Regions from separate parts of the Homo sapiens genome. Here all the other regions are linked to region 3. The links are contacts of gene promoters, found by promoter capture Hi-C in human tissues and cell types (Jung and others, 2019). All regions are on one chromosome and are shown on one strand. Each heading gives the region's core, a stretch centred on a gene start or on the middle of the fragment in contact. The rest is flanking DNA. Distances are from core to core; before and after follow the strand shown.

The links. The method cuts DNA at HindIII sites, captures the fragments that hold promoters and counts their contacts. A contact is called where the count stands out against the background at its distance.
Region 1: a contact is called between a fragment that was not itself captured here and the fragment with the promoter of ETV5 in region 3, in 2 of the 25 tissues and cell types used here (lymphoblastoid cells and small bowel).
Region 2: a contact is called between a fragment that was not itself captured here and the fragment with the promoter of ETV5 in region 3, in 1 of the 25 tissues and cell types used here (neural progenitor cells).
Region 4: a fragment that was not itself captured here is called in contact with the fragment with the promoter of ETV5 in region 3 in 3 of the 25 tissues and cell types used here (hippocampus, mesenchymal stem cells and spleen).
Region 5: a fragment that was not itself captured here is called in contact with the fragment with the promoter of ETV5 in region 3 in 3 of the 25 tissues and cell types used here (H1 embryonic stem cells, lymphoblastoid cells and spleen).

What each region holds. Positions count from the first base shown.
Region 1 is chr3:186,423,578-186,426,416 of GRCh38, forward strand. No RefSeq gene overlaps it. Among named protein-coding and RNA genes, the nearest start is that of LINC02020, 15 kb to the right of the region's middle. RefSeq lists a silencer at 1,353-1,442. The HindIII fragment of the contact is 6,433 bases long and covers 1-2,839 here.
Region 2 is chr3:186,486,880-186,489,712 of GRCh38, forward strand. All of the region lies in intron 2 of LINC02052 (long intergenic non-protein coding RNA 2052), which reads right to left. Among named protein-coding and RNA genes, the nearest start is that of LINC02052, 5.4 kb to the right of the region's middle. The HindIII fragment of the contact is 3,693 bases long and covers 1-2,833 here.
Region 3 is chr3:186,107,545-186,110,384 of GRCh38, forward strand. It overlaps ETV5 (ETS variant transcription factor 5), which reads right to left and starts at 1,545. Exons shown (of 13, transcript NM_004454.3): 1 at 1,396-1,545. RefSeq lists enhancers at 268-327, 1,086-2,064 and silencers at 1,098-1,197, 1,228-1,857. The HindIII fragment of the contact is 3,753 bases long and covers 215-2,840 here.
Region 4 is chr3:186,364,432-186,367,220 of GRCh38, forward strand. No RefSeq gene overlaps it. Among named protein-coding and RNA genes, the nearest start is that of DGKG, 3.6 kb to the left of the region's middle. The HindIII fragment of the contact is 3,187 bases long and covers 1-2,789 here.
Region 5 is chr3:186,534,490-186,537,602 of GRCh38, forward strand. No RefSeq gene overlaps it. Among named protein-coding and RNA genes, the nearest start is that of CRYGS, 8.3 kb to the right of the region's middle. The HindIII fragment of the contact is 5,360 bases long and covers 1-3,113 here.

The DNA of each region.
Region 1 (2,839 bases), core at 225-2,724, 320 kb after region 3:
GAATGAAATATGAATCAGAAACACTATCCTCTCATTATAAAAACCATGGGGGCCTCCAGACTAGGAAGCTGTGAGCCAAATCCTGGCTGCTGAATGTTAAGGAAGACACAATTGAGTTAAAGGATTTATGTCAGAGGGTAGAAATGCTGCCACATGATTCCAGGGTTTAAAAAAATGGGCCCAGTCTAGAAATTGAAAGGCTTGACATGGAATATGATCAGCTATAAAAGTGTTAACCTTCAGAAGAGAACAAACTGATGTTTGCAAAATGCCAGAAAATAAAGAAAGACCAGTGAAGCTTAAAAACACAATACTTTCTACAGCTATGAATTTCATTACCTCAAGAAGAGACCAAGAATGATAACTTGAACAATTTTCTATAAGAATTAGCTAATAACCTTTTGGGTTCGATTATCCACTGACTGAAAGGAATCAAATGTTTTCAGGGTAATATCATGGGAGGGCTGTTTGTCATCTTGGTCTCGAAACCAATAGCCAAACAAATTTTCTTTCACATTCAACAGATCATAAAAGGTAGTAAGTTTTATGCTGAGTTCTGGGGAATCTCATACTGTTGGAGCAGCTATCTAATGTCAAGTTTAGAATTTACATTAGGAGGAAACAGCTTTCTGCAGATTTACTTTTCCCAGGCCAACCATCTGACAAAAAGAACAATCAGCTCCCAAGGTGGTGCCTCCCCTTCCAACAGTGGTTCTGACTGTCTGTCCAGAGAAAGGAAATCCTAAATGACCTGTTCATCAGCTGGACATTCCTGTGCCAATCAGCCTTTTTACTCCACTGAAATATTTAGATAGTTACAACAAGCATATAAGTGAACGTTACAATCTCACGCAGAATCTAAAATAACGTCCTACGTCAGGCAACTAACAATAAAAGTAAAATTAGACTGATATGACCACACGAACAACAGAAGACACTGGATGCAAAGTTTGGTGGCATGATCACTTGAAACGTACAACAGAGGTAACCCAGTGCATATTTAGGTTCTTGTGAAGTAACTGTGATTAGCGGAATTAGGCTTAAGGAATGAGTGGCCAAAAACCAAGTGTTAAAATGAGTTATTTTGGGAATCCCTTTGAGAAAGCTCTGAGGGTCCCAGACGGGCATAAATATCCGGTGGTTGGGCCGGGCGTGGTGGCTCATGCCTGTAATCCCAGCACTCTGGGAGGCCGAGGTGGGTGGATCACCTGAGGTCAGGAGTTCAAGACAAGCCTGGCCAACATGGTGAAACCTCGCCTCTACTAAAAATACAAAAAAAAAAAAAAAAAAAAAAAATTAGCCGGGTGTGGTGGCACGAGCCTGTAGTCCCAACTATTCGGGAGGCTGAGGCAGGGGAATCGCTTGAACCCAGGATGCGGTGAGCCGAGATCGCGCCACTGCACTCCAGCCTGGGCAACAAGAGCGAAACTCCATCTCAAAACAAACAAAGATCAGGTGTTGGGCAGTGCTCGGTCAGTGGTGGCCATGGCTGCGCAGGAGGAGGCAGAGCTCAGTCTTTGGTGGGTCACGCCTCTGTGGTTCTGCTTGGCTGGTTTTCTGTAGTGCTATACCTGCATATACAGCTACAGCTGTCTTGAGAGCTGACTCCGTCTACTTTTTTTTCTCTGAAAAATGAAGTTACTGAAAGCAAAGTGTGTTTCTTGAGTGTGTTTTTATCCTTGACAAGTGTTAAGGATACGGAGTACATACAAAATAACAAACTGAGAGCTGCTATTACTGTCTATTTTAAGCCTCGGTAAGCTGCTTGAACTCCTAGAAAAGAGAAGGAAGAGACAGGGGGTTGGGGGAGGGGGGCATGATACAACCAGGTGCAACCTGGGGTCAACTAAAGAAGACACAAGGAGAATAGGCATGACTTTTAGGGCGAACTTCAGAGAGAAGAGAAAGGCTGCTCTCAACCTCTTTGAAGGAAAATTTATGCAAGACTCCCAACTTGCTCACAATCTGCATAAAGGCAGCAAACGAATTGAGTAAATTACCTTTGTCCTCACTCAAGGGATATCTAATAATAATCCCAAGCTTTATTCTTTGGTAGGGCAATACACACAGCCAAAACTGCCCCAGTTGTTAAAAATGATTAAGTATTTCTGTATTCCTTGGAAAAGAACTGCTATCTGAACCACCGGAATGCTACCAGCTATCCCATTTGCCCCAGCTCCTCAACTGGGACTCCCCAGACCTCTGCCCACTCCCGCCAGGGTGAATGCCTGGCCCCGAAGGTCACTGCTGCAGCTCTAGAATGTTCATTCTGACTGATTGGTGCCTGGACTACACTGATTGTGAAAGTATCCTATCTGTTCTCAGGCAATGGTCGTAAGCGACACTGCTGACTAAGCCAGAGAGTTATTAAAGTAACTTAGTGCAGGATGGCAAGGAAGTTGGGTAGAGATGGAAGAAGAGACTAGCTCAAGGTTGCCTGGGGATGGGGAGTGAGGGGCTGTTAGTGCTGAAGCCTCCTGGACTCACTACATGAAGAAGGATCCTCCTTGGTCCTGAATGGCATGGCAATACCCATTTACTGCCTCTAGGAGAAGCTGGGAGGAACAGATCACAGCTAAGAAGCAACAGGAACCCCAGAGGGGAAAAGTCTTACGTAAATATGCAAGAGGATTAAAAACAGAAAAAGAGAATATTAATCCAAACCACAAGTGTATTTTCAGACTGCCAAGGTCCTGAACTCCTGCGTCTTACGCACCTCAGTGTGAATGGTGCTTTTACCAAAGTAAGAGAGAATTTAACTCAACTGAGGGACTTATAAGGGAGGTTAAGGGAAAAGTTCCAGATGGGGTAGTATAAAAATGCAGAAAGAGCAAATAAT
Region 2 (2,833 bases), core at 291-2,790, 380 kb after region 3:
AGATTTGACTTATTTCACAAGCAAGAATAATCTTAGTTTGGTTATCTTTAATCAGAAATGGGGCTGATCATAGAGAACGTTTTGTGTTGCAGTGAAAAACTATAGCACACCCTTGTGGGTTATCAGATTCTGGTCTTGTTTATTGCCTTGGAGGTTTTGTTATTCACCTGTAACTGGATTCTGCTGTCATGCATATTTGACATTCTTTCATCCACATCTTCTACCATCTACACTGAGAAATAACCATGACTGTGGCCCTCATGTCTATGCCATCACCAAAGACATTCACACTGCAAACCAGGAAACCTGTCAGCTTGCCACTGCCGTCCTCACTCCACCGTCTAAAGATGTCTCGAGTCTAACGTGTAGCAATCTTGGCTGCCCTCTGGACTCAGAAACTGGGTTTATTGTCTGCTCCAACCACTCATCTTTGTACTGCTTTTTATTTTCATAGAAATTTCCCTCATTAAATATTCTCTCCTATCTAATCTCTACACATGCTTCAGATAGTCCTTAATGAATAAAGGCAACTGAACAAGCAACAGACTTATATTGTTCAGAGGAAAGAAAGATGTTCTTTCCTTGCACAAGAGGAAGGATGGACAAAAACTCTCAAAACTCTCTCCTTATTCAGACCTCAGTGAAGTGCCTCTGAGCTCTCTTCTCAACTAGGCCTCAACCTTGGGCCTCAGTTTCTGCAAGAATCCTGGTAAAGTGGTTTAGCTATAATCCCCCACTCTTTTCTCTGGACCCAACACGTCAGGCTGGAGGGGCACTCTTTGCCACTGGCCTCTGGAGATGCCAAGGCAGCAGGTCATTGGAATGAGAGGTAGCCCAGCTCATTGAAGCCTGAGTTTCCCTTGAGATTCCATCCCCTGCAGGAGGAGCCAGAATAGGGTGGATAAAATCAGATTAACGCAGATCACAGGGCTGTGCCTGCTTTGTGGAATTAAATACTTTCTCCAGATCTGTCACTCCCATTTGCGGGGTTAGGAGGAAGAGCCGTGGGGAGCCCTGGGACTCCTCTTTTCCCAGACTTTGTACTAACTGGTTGTATGACTTACAGGCAGGCCCTTTAGGCACAGAGTGTTGGGAAATATGATCTCTTAGATTCCTCCAAATCATTCTCCCTGGGGCTTTGTCGCCCCCCTGCTGCCTTCCTCACCAGCCTCATCAAAGGTTTGTACCATTTGTTGTTCCTCAGACTCATTCCCTGTGGCTCTCTCACCTACTGCTCCAGCTGGGCCCTTGCATGATGTGAAACCACATTTTATAAGGTGCAAAGTTTCTATAGTCAACCAGTTGGCAGGAGGGAGGCAGTTATTACATTTGTTTCCTCCTTCTCCTGCACTTTGCTCAAAATGCCTCTTTTAATTTTTTTTCTTCCCAGTTTTTCAGATTTTACTTAAAATTTGTTTGATTGTGGCTAAGCATGATGGCTCACGCCTGTAATCCCAGCACTTTGGGAGGCCGAGGCAGGTGGATCACTTGAGGTCAGGAATTTGAGACTAGCCTGGCTAACACTGTGAAACCCCGTCTCTACTAAAAATACAAAAAAATTAGCCGGGCATGGTGGCGGGCACCTGTAGTCCCAACTACTCGGGAGGCTGAGGCAGGAGAATGGCGTGAACCTGGGAGGTGGAGCTTGCAGTGAGCTGAGATCGTGCCACTGCACTCCAGCCTGGGTGACAGAGTGAGACTCCGTCTCAAAACAAAAAACAAAAAGAAAAGAAAAAAGAAATAAGTCTGCAAGTTTCTGTAGGTGGCAAGGAGATTTCTAGAAGAAAGGAATCGAGACTCTACTTCCTTTCTTTTGGGAGGCTCAATGTTTTAGAACTCATATAATAGGTTTCAGTTTTAAAAAGCTGATTGACTACAGTTGTTCTTTCTCTGCCCTACCAAAACCTTGCCAAAATGATAGTAAAGAATAAAAATGGGCACAAGGACAAGAAGAACAGGAGAGCAACAGCAGACAAGACATTTAGATGAGTTTTTGGAGGACAAATAGCAAACGAAGAAGTGGTTGCTGACTCAGTGGACAGGAGCAAAGTATAACTTAAGGGTCTGTCATAAAAAATTTGGCATGAAGAGGAACCCAGAGAAATCATGAGAGGTTTGGGATTTGGAGGCTCTGCTGAGAAAAGGGATGAGGCGTTGGTCTGAAAACAAGAGTCACTGGTTGAAAGTCTGCATAGAGTGTGTTGGGATCCCAGGTCCCCTCCTCATCCCACATAGCCAGGAAGCTGATACTTGAGTTTGTCCCTGTGAAAATGATGGCTCAGGGTTTGAAAACCCTAAAGAAAAGCCAATCAGCTAACAGCTCTATGCACACACTGCAGAGCTTCCTACAAGACTTTTAGTGCCTCACTCTTAACATGAATAGATAGCCAAGGATATGACATATGAGGAAAGCTTCCAACATAGGAGAGACAAAATATCCAGAAAAGAAAAAGGAATGTGGGGGGAAACAGACAATATAGGGAACATTAGAAATGATATTGCGGCCGGGCACAGTGGCTCATGCCTGTAATCCCAGCACTTTGGGAGGACGAGGTGGGCAGATCACAGGGTCAGGAGTTCAAGACCAGCCTGGCCAATATGGTGAAACCCTGTCTCTACTAAAAATACAAAAAAATTAGCCGGGTGTGGTGGCATGCTACTCGGGAGGCTGAGGCAGGAGAATCACTTGAACCCAGAAGGCAGAGGTTGCAGTGAGGCGAGATCATGCCACTGCACTCCAGCCTGGGCAACAGAACAAGACTCTCTCAAGAAAAAAAAAATAAAAAGGAAAAAAGAAATGATATTGCATCATAAAACAAGAACATGATACTAT
Region 3 (2,840 bases), core at 295-2,794:
TAAACGAACGGAAAAGAGGCATTCCAGGGTTAGAAAAATTGTATTCCAAGTATAATTTTTTTAAAAGCCTGAAGGAAAGGCTCGAGTTCATCCAGGAGTTTAAACCACTTCCTTTGCCCCCCCACCACCCGCGCCCCGGGCGCCCCCAGGAAAACTTTAGCACAGCGCAGCGGCGCGATCCAGGCCCCTCCCCTGTGGCGCGCAGCGGGCCCGGTTTTATGAATGGGAGAGCGAGCCGCGGCCGCCACATCAGGTAGAGGCTGTAACTGGATCTCTAGCGCTGGGCCCCATTCACAAAACAAGACACACTTCCACCCAATTCTCAGCCTTCCCCATTCATGAAAACTCCTTCAGCTGCGCCCCCGCCCCCATTTCCAACGCACGCCCAGCCTCCGACGCAGGCCCCTCACCCCAGCGTTTTAGGAAGAAAGCTCAATGCTTCATTCACAAAAAGGGAAGAAAAAAAAAAAAGCCGCAGGGAGCAGCGAGCCAACGAAAGAAACCCGCTTCATTCATAAAGTCACCCACATTCATAAAAACGAGGTGCGGCGCCCGGCGCTACCAACCGCTTCCAATCCCCCCACCCCCAACATCTCTCCCTGGCACCCCCTCGTCGACCAGGAGTTCGGTTCCCCCCCGAGTTTTCTCCACCCTCTGAAAATGCGGCCGGAACCCTAATCCGCTGCGAGGCTGCAGCATCTTTCGGTGCTGTCCCCTCCACACCCGTGTTATCCCCACCATCCCCAGGCCGCTGTTCCGGTGCGCCCCGATTTTCTCGAGTCGCCGCACAGCCGGACGCCCTCAGCCTGCTGGGTGGGAGCAGGGCGACTGGATGTCCACTTTCCACCACCTGAAACTTGCAAGGCCTGCGTAAGTTCCTGGTCGACCCCCGCCCCCGCAGGCTGCACTTGCCTGTGTCATTTACCCCCTCCCGGTGCTCTGGGGGGCAGCGCCTCTCAGACATTCCCCTCAAACTGCTTCCCGCCCCCTCCTCCCAACTGCGGAGCTCCGCCAAGCGTCTCTTCTCGCGAGCCTCCAAGTCCCCTCGGGGCTCTCGAATCTCCAGAGACTGTGAAAGCCTCGCAACTCCGCGATCCCCCATCCACTCGGGAGCCCCCGCACTCGCGCTCCGGGGCGCCTCCCCCACGACGTGTGGAAAGCCGCTCTCCCCGCGCTCCGGAACCGTTAGCCGCACCCGCCCGACGCCTCCCAGGAACCAAACCGGACCGGGCCGCGGGGGGAGGGGGCGGTCAACCCGGGGGGGGTCACCCCAGCTACTGCACCCCGACTTTGAAGATTCTGAATCAGCCCGTGAACTCTAGCCGGCTGGGCCTGTCGGACCAGTGGCCGGACGCCCCTTCCGATCTCCCCCCTGCCCCCGCAAAGCCCCCTCACCTGAGGCGGCCTCTCTCCTCCCCTTGCAGCGGCCCCGGCGGCGCAGGCGCGCTCACGCACGCGCGCAGCGGGCCTGGGCGCCTGGGCGAAAGGCTGGGCCGAACCGCTCCGAAGACGGTGAACCGCTCCGCGCACCAGCGGCTGGACTCTGCGCCGCAGCTGCCAACCAGGCTGGAGCGCTGGCCCGGCCCCCCGCGGCTCGCTGCTCCGCCCGCCGCCATTGGCCCGCGGCCCTAGCCCAGCCTTGTTCCCATTGGCCAGAGGCCGTTCCCGCGGCTGTCCATCACCTCTTGTTTACCCTGTCTGCGGGCAAATCCAACCAAGCCGCCCCATCAACTCCGGCCCCCATTGGCCAGCGGTGCATCTCTCTCCACCCCCTCAGGGGTCTGTTTTACATAATTTATGCACCGGGGGCCATTGGCCAATCAGCACAGGCTTGTTTATATAATGAATGTAAGGACGTTTTTCATTCATAAAAAACGCGACCTGAGGGGGAAGCTTAGCTGAGTCAGTGAAGCACTTAAAGGGGCCGAGGCCAGGAGGAGCCGCCGTTACTTCCCTTCTCGCCGCTCTCCCGACTTTTCACCGAGGCACGACTCTTCCCCCTTACCCACTCACCCCCACTTCTCCATCCAGCAAAGCCCCGACCAGAATTGGGTCTCTTGGCGCCAGACGTTCGCAGCTGCAGCACCAAGCAAAGTTATCATTTTAGAATTCAGGGGAGAGGAATTCGTCATTCCACACAAACTCGCTGACCGACCTGGGCGTTTAGCCCACAGAAACACAGAAAACGGAAACCGAGCCCTCTAATCTTAGTTACCTTTAAGAGAGGCCTTAATTTCTTTTAACCAGGTTTCCAGTGGGAAGAATAAGCAGCATCTCCTTTTAAAATCTCAGCTCTCAAACAGATTTTTGTTACTATTTTGTACTGGCAAGGCCTAAGACCCAACCAAATCCCGTTTTCTCTTTAACTGCGGCTCGTAACCTCCGCCAGAGTGGGTTCTGTAGTCGAGGTGAGACAGGGTTCGGGCTCAAAGAAATCCTCTCCGGGGACAGCAGCAGCCAGTCCACCGACCTGGAAACCTAAATCCCTCCGAAACGGGCATGCAGACTCAGACTTTTTGCCTCCCTCCCCGGGCTGCTTGTTTTCCATTTAAGTATTGAATGCAAGATGGTGTATTTGCGAATTAGATCCCGTGCAGCTGGGAACGACGAGAAGCGGCTCTGCTTGCCAAACGATAGGGCACTAACTGCAATTGCTGAGATTCTTAACAGGGTGTTCCAGGAAACAAATAAACAAACAATCCTCTCCCCTCTCCGCCCCCTTACCCCCTCCTGTGAAGGCCGTGGGGCGGCTCTATCTTCTCTCCGGGGATGCTGGGGGCCTGTGACGGAGCTCTGTTCTCGTCCTGCTGGAGTGCCCTGCCATTCACGCCGCGTGCCAG
Region 4 (2,789 bases), core at 222-2,721, 260 kb after region 3:
GCTGCAGAAGGAGTTCAGAGAAGGCTGTGTGGACTGAGTTACATGCTAATAACATGGAGGAAAAGGGTGGTAGTAGAGGCTGAAGCAATGTGGAAGGCAAAGAGGGATGGGGCGGGAAGAAGCACCAAGAACAATTAGTGCTAATGGAGGCATCATGGAGGAGGTAGGGTTTGCGATCGGATTTTAAAGGGGAATAGAGATCTCACTTAAAGATCAACAGGACAAGGGCAATCTAGGCTGGGAGAAAGCAAAAGCAGAGACGTAGGACAATTCATGGTGAGTTCTGGGTCTTCCCAGCACAAGAAAAGAAGGCTGGGACAGTATTGTGGGAGTCTCCAAATGCTCTTCTGGGAGCATAGACTTGGGTTCCACAGTGAGGAGCTATGGCAGGTGTGGATTTTTTGTTGTTTGTTTTTGATGGGAAATGAGCTGGGAAGCAAGCTGGGAAGTATCTGATGCCAGCTTTCCCAAGGTAGGCCTTCCCCATCAGAATGGAGCACTGTGGGGAGGGAGTCCTTGTTGCTGCTCTCACGAAGAGCCAGAGCCCAGGTGGCTTATGTGGCTTGCTGCAGAGGGCACCCAGCTAAGGGGCTGAAATCCAACTCATGCCCCACTTGCCCAGCCACACAACCTGTTAGGGTTATGTCTGCCTGGAGGGAGGGATGCCTTTTCTCTAATTTGCATGGGCTGACAGAGGCCCTGCAACTGAGCTCTTTATTTGAAAAGGCTGAAGCTACGGTGAAACAAGTGAGGATTTATTGGGCATTTGCTGTATGTGCAAACATAAGGTAAAGCAGAAAGAGTCTTGAGGTCAGGACTATCTGTGAGTCTGAGCATGTCTCTGCTCTGTGGTGACACCCTGAGACTTACTGTAGGGTACAGAGGAGGAAGCTTAGTGCCTCTCCTCAAAGATTTTGCAATCCATGTCAGTTATAAAACAAACGCTCCACTGGTTAAGAAACAGTGAACGACAGTATGGAATCAAGTGCCAAATTGCACAGGGCAGATTCTCAGGGCTTGAGAAAGGAGACCTCCTCTGGGCTGAAAGAGTCAAGGCAGGCTTCATGGAGGAGGAGGGCTGGGTTTGGCAGTGGAGCATGTGTATGTTGGTTCTCAGCCAGAGAAAAGACCTGCGAACAAAAAGCCAGAGGAAACGAAGCTGGGGGCTTCTAAGCATGGATTTTTAGCCGCCACAGCCACCCTAATGCCATTCCCAATTGTAGCCCAAGCGCTGTGATGAGTCACCCTTGTTTCTGAGAGACGGGGCATTTTTGGATGTTTAACTGGTTCAACACTTTACATTCCCTGAGACTTCAATGTTGGCAGCTCACACTCACCATGTTGCTCTGGGAACACATCATCCAAGCCAGCAGCTGATGCCTGATCTCCACTGCCAAGGCAAAGCGAGGGCTGAGTCAGGTACCTGTGTCTGGAAATTTTTAGTCCCACTGTCTCTGACAAGCTGAGCGAACAGCACTTGACAGTTGGAGCACAGCTGAGTTCAGGGTCACCAACCGCAAGGTGGGCCGGGGGGGTTCTGCTCGCCTTCTTAGGCCTCACTTTTCCCATGTACAGAACACAAAGGATTATACCAGATTATCTCCAAGCTGTCTTCCACCTAATATTTTATGATCTCATAATTAATGGAATCTTTCCATGTTATCAAGCAATGACAGGATGGGAACAGATACTAGCCAAGTCCGAACCTTAACTTTCCTCTTGGTTTTGACTGTGAAGGCTGTGGTGGAGTGAGACTGTGGGTTGGAAACAGGAGAACCAGGAGCTCCTGGTCACAGTTTTGCCATGAATGGGATTTGGGATCCAGCCCTGGGAATGTAGGCAGGAGATTCCCTCATTTTAGTTTTCTTAGAAAATAAGGAGGCTGGAAATGGTCCCTACAACCCTTTCTGGCACTGATACTCTGTTAAGTACTAGCAACTGAACAACTTTTAAGTACCGCCCCCTTGCCTGGGTGGGGCCCTCCACAAGGCAAGCTGGGAAAATTCTCACAATATCAACTGATAAGCTTGAAGGAAAGCACAAAGGAGAAGCCATGGGGTTCAGAATAATAAATAGATAATTTAGAATTAGATGGAGTCAAAAGAGCTAATCTGAGTCTCTAAGCTCCAATTTCCTCTTCTGCAAAGTGGGGATAGTAATACATGCATCTCAAGGTAATGATTAAATGAAGAAGCTTATTTGAAAGTGTTTTAGAAGTGCTATGCAAAAATGTAAAATACAGTTATTGAAGATAGTCTGTTCCCTTAAGGTAGTCTATTTTTTAAAGCCTAGTTATTATACTACTTGCTAATGTGTCTGCTTCCTAAGAAACAGCAATTCAGGTCAGCAACTCTTTATACACCACATTAAAATATAGTAATATTTTAACATGAAAGATGCTGGTGGACTTCAGGACTACCAGAGTGCACATCTGCCCCCTGCCTGGAATTCTACAGTGTCACTGGAGTTGCCCACAGTGGATTTCCCAGGAACTTTGATTGTGTTTACTTGACAGTGAAGGAGACACCTACCCATCCAAGATCCTGCTTTGATGCTTGCCTATCCGGAGACAGATGGTGGAAAGAGGGGAAGGAGGCGTGAGTGAGTAGGGAGAAAAAAGGAGGCTTTCTTCTTTCTGTTATATTTTGGGCAAAGGATGTTAAACTTTATGCTTTAATGAGCTTGTAAAAAGGCTAATTTGGGTTCACTACATTACTCCAGGTCTGTTTTCTGCTATGTCTGGTCAAGAGACACCGCCGTGGAACTCTTCACTGTTGTCCCTGGAGGGG
Region 5 (3,113 bases), core at 520-3,019, 430 kb after region 3:
AGAAAAGTTTCCCTTGCTCTGAAGTCACGCCCATGAGGGATTCTCCTCTCCTGTGTGTGCCAGAAGCTGGTCACCCAAAGCTCAGTGATTAGCTGCCCTCTGTCTCCTGAGGAACCTCAGAGAAGAGAGACAAAAATAAGGGAGACTTGCGTGAACTCTAGGGACAATTCTGCTGGCTGTGGAAATTGCTGGGAGCTAGAACCAAGGGAGCTAGAACCAAGGGAGAAGCTTATGGGAGAGCTAAGAAAAGGCTGAACTCCCGTGATAACAAAAATATGGCTCTTTTTCAAGGTAGTAGGATGGGTTGGACCATTCTGATATATTTCTTCCCAATTATGAGGCATCTGCCAAAAATGCAGAAATGCTTTTCTGAAAACAACTAGGGGGTAGAAACAGGGATTTAAAAAGCTAGACAAGTTAAAACACACACACACACACACACACACACACACACACACACACAAAACTGATAATAGCAGTACTTTACTACTCAGAAACAGTACTAATATGACAACCATGGTGGTAAAGAACTGGTGACCCTCATTATAACATAGATTTCATACTTGCAAATTCACCCACTCCCTCCAATTTCATTGTAATCGCAAAATCACTAATCGTGGTGCTCTTGTGATCATTTATGGATATGAGCAGAGCAGTGAAAAATTTGAGTCATCCAATGAGTATATTCCCAGCTAAGGTCGAACAAATGCTCCCCCTTCTTGTTTCAGCTCCCATACTGTAAACAAGTCTCCTTTCAACCCATTTAGTGTCATGCTTTCCGCATTGCACTGTTCTTCGTTGGTAATTTCACTGTTGAAAACATCCCCAAATGTAGTGCTGAAGGGCTGTCTAGTGTTCCTAAGCATGAGAAGGCTGCGACGTGCCTTACTGAGATACCTGTTAGATCATCTTTCTTCAGGCAGCAGTTAGAGTGCTGCTGGTCCTGAGCTCCATGTTAATGAATCCACAACATATATTCAAGAGTCTTTAAAGAGAAACACATATGAAAAAAGTTTATGCATTGATCAGTTGACAAAAATGTGACCAGAGGCTTACAGGAACTTAACCTAGTATTTTATCTAAGAGCAATAATTCAATATTTGCAATTCAGTGTTTGAGGTATTTTTATGGAGTATAATTACAGAAAATAATGAGAATTAACTGTATATGCTACATATTTTTCACATATTATCTCATTTTAATGCCCACAGATTAGGTGTTATGTTAGTTTCACAGAAAATTGAGGATATACATGTTAGATTATGTGACTTAGAGCTAACATATGGAAGTGGCAGAATTTGAATCCATTTCTGTCTAACTACCCAAAGAGGAAGAGAACTCTTTAGCCCTTTGACTGGAGAGTTGGCTCTTAGGGAAAGGTAGCCAGTCATCCATATCAGGGCTGGGCCACAGGGAGAGCTGAGCTTAGTTAAGAACAGCATAGATCAGAGAAAAAAGATGAAAGAACTGAACATAATCCTCCAGCTGTAGTCTGCACTGGTCAGACTACATACAGCTATGACAGTGGGGAGAGAGAAATGACCATTAGCTCGAAGAGAGGCACCAGGATGGTGAGGAGTCTGGGAGCCCACACATGAGGAGAGAAAGGATGAAAGAAACAGGCATTGCTCAGTGTAGAAATGCCAGCATGGAAGCAAACTGGAGGCATCTTTAAATACCTAAAGAGCTATATCCTATGGATGAAAACTAGGATTGCAGGTTGAAAGCTTCAGGGATCAGATTTTGGCTCAATCTAAAAAACAATTTCTGATATTCAGAGCTGTCCTACAGCCAAGATTGGAAACTGGTGGTCCACAAGCCACATTCAGATGCAGATGTATTTTGTTGGTGTGTAGTGATTTAAAAAAAAAAAAAAGTATTTAAATGCCCTTCTATTGGGGAATGTGCTCATTTTCACAGCTTGCACCACTCTCTGCTCTTAGCCCCATGTCACTCCTGTGTAACTTGCCTTGTCCTTGAAGTAGGGTTGTCAGATTTAGCAAATAAAAATATAGGATACAGTTAAATTTGAATTTCAGACAAATGACAATTTCTTAGTGTAAGTATGTCCCATGTAACATTTGGGACATACTTATGTTTATTTTTCTATCCCAATAGACAGTGAGCTCCATATATGGGAATATTCAGAGACTTGTCTTAGAGAAATTCTTGTGATGGAAATAGGGTTAAAATGGTTTAAGGGTGCCCTTGCTTTATTTTATTGAGATCCCCCATTTCAGAGCGATAAAACAATAAAAGGTAGGGGGAGATAACTGAATTATCAGGTGCTGTTCTGGGTGTGGGTGACAGGTAAGACACCAGCTTCTTGTCCTAACAGCTGAATGTTCTACCAAAAGAGCTGGGACTGACTGATAGATAAGGATATAAAGTGTTTTTGACCTCTAATATCAATTGTTAGTCAAATTCCTTTTAAGCAGAAAGTTGATTGGTGTGTCTGCAACTGGAGAAAATGATAGCAATCTCTTTCTGGACCAAGGCATGAACCAGGAGGCATGCAACACTCCAAAATAATAATCCTGCTTTTATCTGTCAAAAGCCATCTTCTACTTCTCTGAAACTGTGGTTAGTCATCCTGACACTTCTTGTTTTCCTACCCTGCTGCCAGAACTGCTTTTCTAGTTGAACAGACTGTGACCAACTCACCAAAGAACATGGCAAGCAGTTGATATGAGAAAAGAGACTGATACTAACTTACTTATCACAGCCTATTTCTTTGGCAAAAAATCAGTGGATTTCTGAGGTCACTTCCAGAAATTATGCCTCTAAAAGTAAGTGTCAGTAGTCCTTGGTCATCAGCTAGTTTTTTAATGTCCTCCTGCTGGTGTCTGGGGAATTAGAATGTTTGTGTTGGATGAGACTCCAGAGAGCATTTGGCTCAACTCCCTTGTTTTGGAGATAAGGAAAGGTAGCTTCATGGTATGGTGGCAAGATCCAGAGCTGATGGCTGCAGTCAGCTCACAGGCCAGAGCTCTTTGCAGCTCAGCAAATGGCCTCCCATTCCTTCTCCATTTGTCAGGTTTCCCTCCCTTACTTACACCCACTTTTTTCAGTCTCTCACTTGAAACAGACAAAATGACAAAAGGGAGGGGAAG